2 separate regions of the Homo sapiens genome follow, and region 1 is linked to region 2. The links are contacts of gene promoters, found by promoter capture Hi-C in blood cells and fetal thymus (Javierre and others, 2016). All regions are on one chromosome and are shown on one strand. Each heading gives the region's core, a stretch centred on a gene start or on the middle of the fragment in contact. The rest is flanking DNA. Distances are from core to core; before and after follow the strand shown.

Region 1 (5,083 bases), core at 1,240-3,739, about 20 Mb after region 2:
GAAACACTGCTATAGTGGGGGCATTCTCCCAGTTCTCCTATTCTATGGTCACTCCTTTCTATCCTTTGTAGGTTTCCATTCCTTTATCAACCCATTAAAAGGTATCATTCTGAGAAGCATCTTGTCTTTATAACTTACATATTCTTTTTGGCCAATCTGCTTCATTCCCTTGGCTTCAAGTAGCAATCTATATTTCCAGCTCAGATCTCCTTATCTAGATGCCTACACCCTCCTGTATTTTCCCATCTCCTTCAAAATGTCTCATAGACACTCAGAAGGTCTATGATGTATTTTGTCACCATTCCCCTACTAAATGTGCTTAGTCGCTTATATTTATTATGTCCATCTCCCTAATTATCTAAGAGTAGTAAGAGTATCCAGAGTATTAAACCTACTCATCCGCTTTTTTTTTTTTTTCAGTGACTCCTAATCTCTGCAATTATTCAAACCTCTGCTTGGGAACAATGTTTAACTCCTTTTTCTCCCTTATCTGCCCTCCTCCAGTCAATTAGACATCCAGTTCTATAGATTCTGCCTCCCTAATATCTCTCCAATCCATTCACTTCTCTCCATCTCCATTGTTTGCCACTCTAGGCCAGGTCACAATCAACTCCCTCCTGGACTATAGCACTAGTCTCCTAACTGGTTTCTTGGTATCCAGTCTTTTTGTCCCACACTATAGCCGTAACATTCAGATAAAATTCAGATTTGATTAGGCCCTCCTCCCCTTCTAAAAACCTTTCATGTACTCTGGATAAAGTCTAAACTACTGAATGTGGCTCAAAAGAATCTACATTATCTAACTCTAGCCTCACCTTATGAAATTCTCTTCCTTGTACTATTTGCTTCAGTCCTAATAAACTTATTTCAATTTTATACTTATTTTATATTCTCAATTGTCACCAAACTAGTTCTCCTTGCTCTAACCCCACTCCCAGTTACCCATGCCTAAATTGCTCCCCTCCTTTCTACCTCTTCTCTGTTAGGTAATTCATTATCATCTTTCAGGTATCTGCTTAAAATCTCTCCCTCTGGGAAACCCTTACCTGATTAAGTAAGGTCCCTGCTATCGTTCCTATAGAACCCTGCCCTGTCAGTGTCATACATGCAACATTCTCTGTGTGTTTTCCACTGACTTCCCACCATGTGGTTAGTCAGTGTTCAAAAATATTCTTCTGGGCCAGGTGTGGTGGTGCATGCCTGTAATCTTGGCACTTTGGGAGGTCAAGGTGGGCAAATCACTTGAGCGTAGGAGTTCAAGACCAGCGTGGGCAACATGACAAAACCCCATCTCTACAAAAATACAAAAATTAGCTGGGCATGCTGGTGTATGCCTGTAGTCCCAGCTACTTGGGAGGCTGAGGTGGGAGGATCGCTTGAGCCCAGGAGGTCAAAGCTGCTGTGAGCCACGATTGCACCACTGCAATCCAGCCTGGGTGACAAAGTGAGAGCCTGTCTCAAAAAAAAAAAAAAATCTCCTGTGGATGGTAGATGTCAATTGTGTTCAATGCATCAAAGAGATCAAATAAGTCAAAGACTAAACAGCTTCTATAAAAGTCAGTGGTGACTTTGGTGACAGCAGTTTCTGTCAGGAAGCAGAAGTAGAAGCCTTCTTCCAAGACTGATTGGAAGGCAGAACTGGAGATGGAAGAGCAGTCTACTCTTTTAAGAAACTTTACGAGGAGAGGAGGTAGGTACCATGGATTGTTGTAATAAAAGCCTTCTCAGTTGAGTCCTTGCTGTCAACCAGCACTTTCAATCATTCTCTCCGTTGCTGCCAAGACAGGCTTCCTAAAATGCAAACTCATTAAGACTACTCTCCTGCTTAAAATTTTTCTATAATTCCTCATTGCTTTCAGGATACAGTTCAAACACCTTTGCTTGACCTACATGAAATGCAAGGACCTGGCTCCTGCTCCTGTTGTAGCCCCAGGTCCTGTCACGCCCCACATATCCAGATCTTCTGTTAGGCCAGGAAGCTTCCTGCCTCTCTGCTTTTATTTGGAATAGCCTCCTCAGCTCACACCTTCACAACTCAGCTCCTGTAATACCTTCCCCAGCCAGTTCCTTGTGTCCACCTCTCCCTCATCCCCCAAACCCAGATTAGGAGTCTACGCTCCCAGAGGCCTGTGCAGGTCTCCTTCATCGCGTTAATCACACCGTATCAAAAGTACATGTTCTGTGCCCCATGAGACTGAAAGCTCCTCTAAGGCAGGGATATGTTTCCCTCCATTGCATCCCCAGTGTCCCACAATGCTTGGCGCACCGTCACGGTCCAGTAAAAAACTTTGAATAAATCTATAGCAAAGCATGGAGCGGTCCGTATAGAGGCTGCCAAGCCGAGCGGCCATGGGAGGTGAGCTGTTGTCGGCGTTTTGAGCAATCTGCGGGCGGACGCGGGGATCACTCACCCGCGATGACGAATTTGGCCATGGTCGAGAGAGACTCAGAGGCAGGGACCGCGGCTTCGCGGTTTCCTGGCAACCACGCAGCCAAGGGCAAGGCGCAGGCGCACTACAAAGTCTGGCGCCCAGCAGAGGTTAGGTGTTTAAAGTTAGGACCTGAATGGGTTACGTTGCGATACACGATCAAACATCGCCCTTATAAGCTCTGTGGTATCCCCGAGCCCCACTCCTGTATGCAGGGAAATTAGTCATTCTCCTTGGTAAACTTTCTTCAAGTAAGTCCTTCAGCTACAGCCGCGAACATATGCTTTTTGACCTTTGAGGGAATCCGTAAGATCTCGTGAGAAGCGCAGCTTCTCGGGGAAGCTGTCATGGCTGCTCCTGTACGTAGTCACGGTCTTGTGCTCTAAGGTGAGTGGAGGACGAGCTTGGGCTTAGCGGCAGCCCGTATCACATCCTAGACTTTTTACTTCGAGGAGAAGAGTCTCACGAGTTGTCCTGGAAGTAAGTTTAAAGGAGGTGGGTTAATGCTGGGCGGCCCAGCTGCGGAAGGACAGGCTCTTGAAGTTGGTTCTGGGGTCTGGTGAGGCTGGCTGGTTGTATAAGATCTTCCTCTTAAGCGCAGGCCACGTGCAGACATCGCTTTCGTTTTCTGCTTCTTCCACTGAGCCGTTCTACCTGCCCAGGTCCCTATTCTTGATGGTCTGGGTTCGGCCGTTGCTAAATCGTCATGTTGAAAATGATCTATCAGCCGGGCGCGGTGACTCACGCCTTGGGAGGCCGAGGCGGGTGGATTACCTGAGGTCAGGAGTTCAGGACCAGCCTGGCCAACATGGTGAAACTCCGTCTTTACAAAAAATACAAAAATTAGCCGGGCGTGGTGGCATACGCCTGTAATCCCAGCTACTTGGGAGGCTGAGACAGGAGAATTGCTTGAACCTGGGAGGTGGAGGTTGCAGTGAGCCAAGATCGCGCCACTGCACTCTAGCCTGGGGGACATAGCAAGACTTTGTCTCAAAAAAAAAAAAAAAAAAAAAAAAAACAGAGAAGAGAAAAGAAAATGATCTATCAATGCTAATCCCCTAATTTTCACCGAGGACATTTCCATAACAATGCCAACAAAAGTCTCTCCTACAGAGAAAGCTTTATGGAACGCTTTTGCACCAGAAAAATCTCATTAATACAATGACTACTTCCAAAGTGACCTGGCTTCTTTGAAACTGGACACATTGTGGTAGATTGGAGGGAGCCCACATTGGTAAAAAAAACTTTTACTGTTTTATGTAAATGTTTAATGGCTCCATAGGTTCCCCATTTTCTCTTCTGTTAAATGCATTTCATTTCTTTAAGTAAAAGTTTTGTTTTAATTTTTATTCTTTTCATTACTTCTTCCCCTACAGGAAAACGACAGCACGTGTTCTTTTTCACTAGTAGAAGTGACGTTGGTTTCATGTTGACAACTTTGAAGCCATTTGGAAGTGTTTCAGTGGAGAGCAAAATGAATAACAAAGCGGGCTCCTTTTTCTGGAACCTTAGACAATTCAGTACATTAGTTTCAACAAGCAGAACTATGAGGCTATGTTGTTTGGGACTTTGCAAACCAAAAATAGTTCATTCAAACTGGAACATTTTAAATAACTTTCATAACAGAATGCAATCAACTGATATCATTAGATATCTCTTTCAGGATGCATTCATTTTTAAATCAGATGTTGGCTTTCAAACAAAGGGCATAAGCACTCTAACAGCCCTTAGAATTGAAAGACTACTTTATGCTAAAAGACTGTTTTTTGACTCAAAGCAGTCTCTTGTCCCTGTTGATAAATCTGATGATGAATTGAAGAAAGTAAACCTTAATCATGAAGTCTCCAATGAAGATGTTCTTACCAAGGAAACAAAACCAAACCGTATCAGCAGTAGAAAACTGTCTGAGGAATGTAATTCCCTGAGTGATGTGTTAGATGCATTTTCAAAAGCGCCCACATTTCCTAGTAGCAACTATTTCACAGCAATGTGGACAATTGCCAAAAGACTGTCTGATGACCAGAAGCGCTTTGAAAAACGACTGATGTTTAGCCACCCTGCATTTAATCAGCTCTGTGAACATATGATGAGAGAAGCCAAGATCATGCAGTATAAGTACCTACTGTTCAGTCTTCACGCCATAGTGAAGCTTGGAATCCCTCAGAACACTATTTTGGTGCAGACTTTGCTGAGGGTGACCCAGGTAAAATAAAAAGGAGATTTAAACATGCATTTACTTGATTTAGAATATTTTGAAAGAATGAAGGGATATAGATATGTAGCCTTCTTAAAAGAGACTATCAAATGGAATGGTAGTTTCCTTTATATTTATTTCTGCATATATATTATATGATTTAGAGGCCTTAAGTTAGCTATTTTCTTCCTTTTGCTATGGAAATTTATGAAAGCCTTCCACATTTACCATCCCCAGGGTTGAGTAGTGGTGAAGAAGCTAAAGTGAGGAGAGATGCAAGATATACAAAGAAAGCCTGGGTAGTTGAAGAAGGAGAGAAGGGAAGGGGAAGGAAGAGAATTTAGTCCATGGTAGAATTGGAATTCAGGCCCAGTAGATGATACCTAAACTGATGAGCAGAATGATAGTGAAGGGGATGGTGTTTCAAGTAGAGAGGATTGCATGCCCTACTGTTCCCAGA
Region 2 (4,984 bases), core at 2,485-4,984:
TGAACCCAGGACGCGGAGGTTGCAGTGAGCTGACATGGCGCCACTGCACTCCAGCCTGGTGACAGAGTGACACTTTGTTTCAAAAAAAAAAATTTATTATTGCTACCATGCTAAACTATTAGTCTTAAAAGTATTAATGGCAACAAGAACTGTTCAATTCTAAGAGATAGACATAGTATTACTCCCCTTTCCCTTTCATAGATAAGAAAACTGAGGCACAGATTGGTTGGATTGATTTCCCCAGGGTCATACAACTAGTAGTTGGCAAAGCCAGGAATGGAACCCAGGTGCTTTATTTTACAGAAACCACTGGAATCAAGATTTTTACTAAAGTATAGGGTAGTAGAGGATAAAATTCAAAGTACAAATTCTTTTTACTATCTAATATTTTATTTTCTAAGAAAAGGATTATATTCAATGAATACTTAATGTATACACAGAAGTTCTCCTTTTAAGTTGGAAAACTGTTATAATGTAGTTCAAAGAGTAGTGTCATGGGGGTAGGGGAGGGGCACCACCATTCTTTCGTAGACTAAAACATTCTTTTCTCTGTCCCATGCACATAGTACCAGGTGCAATGTGGATTTTGAATCAGCACTAGCTGAATTGACATGTTCTACAATACAATTTGCAAGGCACTGTGTGAGTGGCTGCTCGAGCATGGTCACACAAAGAGATGCCTGCATTTATAACCCCAAGTTTCTAAAGCCACTGGGTTAGTCTGCTTCATAGTTTCCTAATTGAAATGTATGTTTGCTTTTTTTTGTTGTTAGACAGTCTCGCTCTGTCACCCAGGCTGGAGCACAGTGGCCCACAATACCACAATATCTCGGCTCACTGTAGCCTCTGCCTTCCGGGTTCAAGCAATTCTCCTGCCTCAGTCTCCTGAGTAGCTGAGATTACAGGCACACACCACCATGCCTGGCTACTGTTTTTTCTTTTTTGAGATGGAGTCTCATTCTGTCATCCAGGCTGAAGTGCAGTGGCACGATCTTGGCTCACTGAAACCTCTGCTTCCCAGGTTCAAGTGATTCTCCTGCCTCAGCCTCCCAAGTAGCTGGGATTACAGGTGCCTGCCACTGCACCCAGCTAATTTTTGTATTTTTAGTAGAGATAGGCTTTCACCATCTTGGCCAGGCTGGTCTTGAACTCCTGACATCGTGATCCACCCACTTTGGACTCCCAAAGTGCTGGGATTACAGGTGTGAGTGAGCCACTGCGCCCGGCCAATTTTTGTATTTTTAGTAGAGACGGGGTTTCACTGTGTTGGCCAGGCTGGTCTTGAACTCCTGACCTCAGGTGATCCACCCACCTCGGCCTCCCAAAATGCTGGGATTACAGGCATGAGCCACAGTGCCTGGACTATTTGCTTTTTTAAAAAAAACAAATTCCTTGATTTTCAAGACTGCTCATTCAAAATAAACTCATAAAGAATGGCTCAACAGTAAGTGCTTTCAGTAAGTTGTAGCCCTATTTGGGGGTGTGTTGTTCACCCAAGTTTTGGTGGGTGTACATGTGTTGTCATTTCGTGGGCTTCTTCTTTTCCCTGGTCCTCTCACATTTCTTCACTCCACCTTGGTCTGTCGGACCCCTGTCCTGCGATCAGAAGTTGAGGAGTGGGAGACTTACTGGATCTAGCCAGAGTTTAAACTCTTCTGTCTTCCTTACCTGGATGGATTTCCAGGTAGACTGGTTGTCATGTTTTTAAGATATAAAAGACCCTTTGGGTTTATGCATACATATCAATAGCCTCTTTGGTGTATTAGGAAAGAAGGTGAGAAATAAGCTGTATTTGCATTTATGTGTAAGGATTTGTGTAGGATTTCTTCTCTCAATCAGTAATTTCTTTCAGGCAGATGCTAGACCATGCCTTGTAAAACATGCCAAAGGTTTTGCTGCATATCTTTTAGTCAAATTTAAAAATGGAAATATTTAATGCATTTTTTTTTTGAGATGGAGTCTCACTCTGTGGCCCAGGCTGGAGTGCAGTGGCACCATCTCAGCTTACTGCAGCCTCCGCCTTCCGGGTTCAAGCAATTCTCCTGCCTCAGCCTCCTGAGTAGCTGGGACTGCAGGCGCATGCCGCCACGCCCGGCTAATTTTTTGTATTTTAGTAGAGACGGGATTTCACTGTGTTGCCCAGGCTGGTCTCGAACTCCCGAGCTCAGGCAATTTGCCGGCCTCAGCCTCCCAAAGTGCTAGGACTACAGGCATGAGCCACCTCGCCCGGCCTTTTTTTTTTTTAAACACAGGGTCTTGTTCTGTCACTCAGGCTGGAGTGCAGTGGCAGGCTCATGACTTATCATAACCTGGAACTCCTGAGCCTAAGCGATCTATCTACCTGCCTTAGCCTCCGGCATAGCTGGGACTACAGGCATGCACCACACTCCCAGCTAATTTTTAAATTTTTGTAGAGATGAGGTCTCCCTATGTTCCCCTGGAACTCCCGGTCTCAAGCAATCCTCCTGCCTCAGTCTCCCAAAGTGCTGAGATTGCCAGCATGAGCACCTGGACCTGGTCCAATAAATATTACAAATTCGAATTAGGCATTTCACTTTCATTTATATACATATCCTTTCACAGGATTATTTGATAGTTATTAATGTATATTATGATTGAGTTTTAATAGTTACTTTGGGAAAACAGAAATTACTGTTCCAGTACTTACTTGTAAGTTGTAAGTCCACACAATGCACTTAAACTTCACCTTGTTCAACAGATTCTGTAGCACATGAAACACTTGAAATATGGAAGAGTCACTTCTCTGGGCACTTTGCTCATTTCGTCTGCTATTCATTCACTGATTGGACATTTTATTGATCGACTACTATCTGCTTGGCAAGGTGCTAGAAATAAGAACACTAAGAAAAAGGTCAAGGTTCCTGTCCTCAAGGCCCTCTCTCTCAGTCCAGTGTTGTCAAGGCTTGATGAAACACACCAGTGGCAAACAAGCACGCGGGGCCTTATTTCACCGGTGTGCGGTCCTTCTTCCAGCTCTGAAATTATGTCTATCCAAACATCCTAAATCAACAAATCAGTGTTTCTAAATCATACAACCGCAGCTAACAAACTGGGAATAAGGCTTCGATTATTCTGACTTGATTTAAAACGATCACTGCCAATTCTTTGCCCTGCGAATCCTTTCTTTGACTACTAAGTTAAGCTTTACATACCTCACTTGCAAGAGGCTATGCTGGCTTTCTGGAAATCCGTAATTAAGTTCAGTGTTTGTGGAATGGAGTGTAATTAACGACCATTAATTAACAGGGTTTCGTTCGTGAGAGCCTGCCAGGCTAAGCAGCAGAAACACGAGAAACTGATAAAAAGCTTTCCTCATTTTTAAACAACAGTCGCACGGAAGTTCCCGGCGGGACAAGGGAACGTGGGTGCCCTTGCTACTCCCGTGGACGCGGGTAGATTGGGACGCTGGACCGTATCTCCCCGCCCCCGCCCCCACGCCTCCTCAGGTGCTCAGCCTGAGGCCTTCGTCCAGGAGCGCTGCCGCTGACCCAGGCTCAGGAGCTGGGGGCCCCTGCACAGACGCCCAGGTCTCGGGACAGGCGGCGACTGCACTCACGGAAGTACGCTGAGCTCTCCCCTGTAGAAGGGCGCCTCTCCTCCCCCACTTCCTCCTCCAGCTCCACAGCAGCCTCCCGGGCCGGCTCCTCCTCCTTCCAGGTCTCCTCCCAGTGCCGCCGCGGCTCTCAGGCCTGAGGTGCGGCGCTCACCCCGGCAGTCCCCAGCCTCAGACGCTGCGTGGAGCGGCGGAGCCGGAGGGAAGCAAAGGACCGTCTGCGCTGCTGTCCCCGCCCCGCGCGCTCTGCGCCCCTCGTCCCTGGCGGTCGCTCCGAAGCTCAGCCCTCTTGCCTGCCCCGGAGCTGTCCCGGGCTAGCCGAGAAGAGAGCGGCCGGCAAGTTTGGGCGCGCGCAGGCGGCGGGCCGCGGGCACTGGGCGCCTCGCTGGGGCGGGGGGAGGTGGCTACCGCTCCCGGCTTGGCGTCCCGCGCGCACTTCGGCGATGGCTTTTCCGCCGCGGCGACGGCTGCGCCTCGGTCCCCGCGGCCTCCCGCTTCTTCTCTCGGGACTCCTGCTACCTCTGTGCCGCGCCTTCAACCTAGACGTGGACAGTCCTGCCGAGTACTCTGGCCCCGAGGGAAGTTACTTCGGCTTCGCCGTGGATTTCTTCGTGCCCAGCGCGTCTTCGTAAGTGGCCGCACTTGGAACTGGAGCCGGCCCCCTCCCCCACCGCGCGCACCCACCCAGCGTTTCTCCATTGGGATTGATTTCCGAGAGATCCCGGCGTCTGTCTGTCTCACCCATCCTACCTCTCAGAGTGGTTTATATCCTGGGTGGAGGAAATATTTGGGGAAATGAACTCCCTTTGGTACCCATCACCCAGTTACACCCCGCTTCTCACCTCTTAAAATTGGTTAGGGGCAGCGGGAGAGCTTTGAAGCAGACCTGTGCTTAAAAATCGGGGAAAGTGGGAAATCAACAAAGGCTGGTCTTGCCGGACTCCCCGCCTCCTGTGCCAGTGTCGAGGATTTGGTCAATATCATCCCCGAACTTCTTTTTCTCCTCTACCAGTTAGGCTTCTTGGTAGCCTTTTTCTGCTTTACAGGCTTAACGCCCGTCCTTTTCAGTCTCCCTAAACAAGCCCTCCCCCACTCTTTCCGCCTCTGTCTGATTCTGTTTCTCCTTACTCCTTTTGCAGACATTCTGATGACTTAAAATGACCATACTGTCCTATTGAATTCATTGTGTCTTATCTCTGGGACTGTCAGACATTTGCACATTTGAGGTTGAACAGATGAATTGAATGTGTCATCTGTTCTTTTTATAGTGATTCACTATTTAGGTCATTGTTCAGAAGGAACAAGGGTGTTTGCTGAGTTTTCACTCGCTGCAGGTCATTTGAATACTGCAGTATTTAATAATTCAGTTATGTTTTCAAGTTGCCAACGTTCCGCGTTGCAAGGGCCGTC

What was found. Contacts are between HindIII fragments. The CHiCAGO score rates a contact against its expected background, and 5 or more counts as called.
Region 1: the fragment with the promoter of MDH1B here is called in contact with the fragment with the promoter of ITGAV in region 2 in 1 of 17 cell types (activated CD4 T cells); the score reaches 5.3 in activated CD4 T cells.

Annotation. Positions count from the first base shown.
Region 1 is chr2:206,762,839-206,767,921 of GRCh38, forward strand. MDH1B (malate dehydrogenase 1B) reads right to left here and starts at 2,490. Exons shown (of 12, transcript NM_001039845.3): 1 at 2,412-2,490. The coding sequence starts at 2,433. It overlaps FASTKD2 (FAST kinase domains 2), which reads left to right and starts at 2,768. Exons shown (of 12, transcript NM_001136193.2): 1 at 2,768-2,909; 2 at 3,806-4,632. The coding sequence starts at 3,856. RefSeq lists enhancers at 2,269-2,408, 2,659-3,038. The HindIII fragment of the contact is 1,569 bases long and covers 1,978-3,546 here.
Region 2 is chr2:186,586,322-186,591,305 of GRCh38, forward strand. It overlaps ITGAV (integrin subunit alpha V), which reads left to right and starts at 3,735. Exons shown (of 30, transcript NM_002210.5): 1 at 3,735-4,202. The coding sequence starts at 4,018. It overlaps LOC124906105 (a long non-coding RNA gene), which reads right to left and starts at 3,575. Exons shown (of 2, transcript XR_007087465.1): 1 at 2,669-3,575. RefSeq lists a silencer at 3,798-4,027 and an enhancer at 4,158-4,217. The HindIII fragment of the contact is 2,158 bases long and covers 3,326-4,984 here.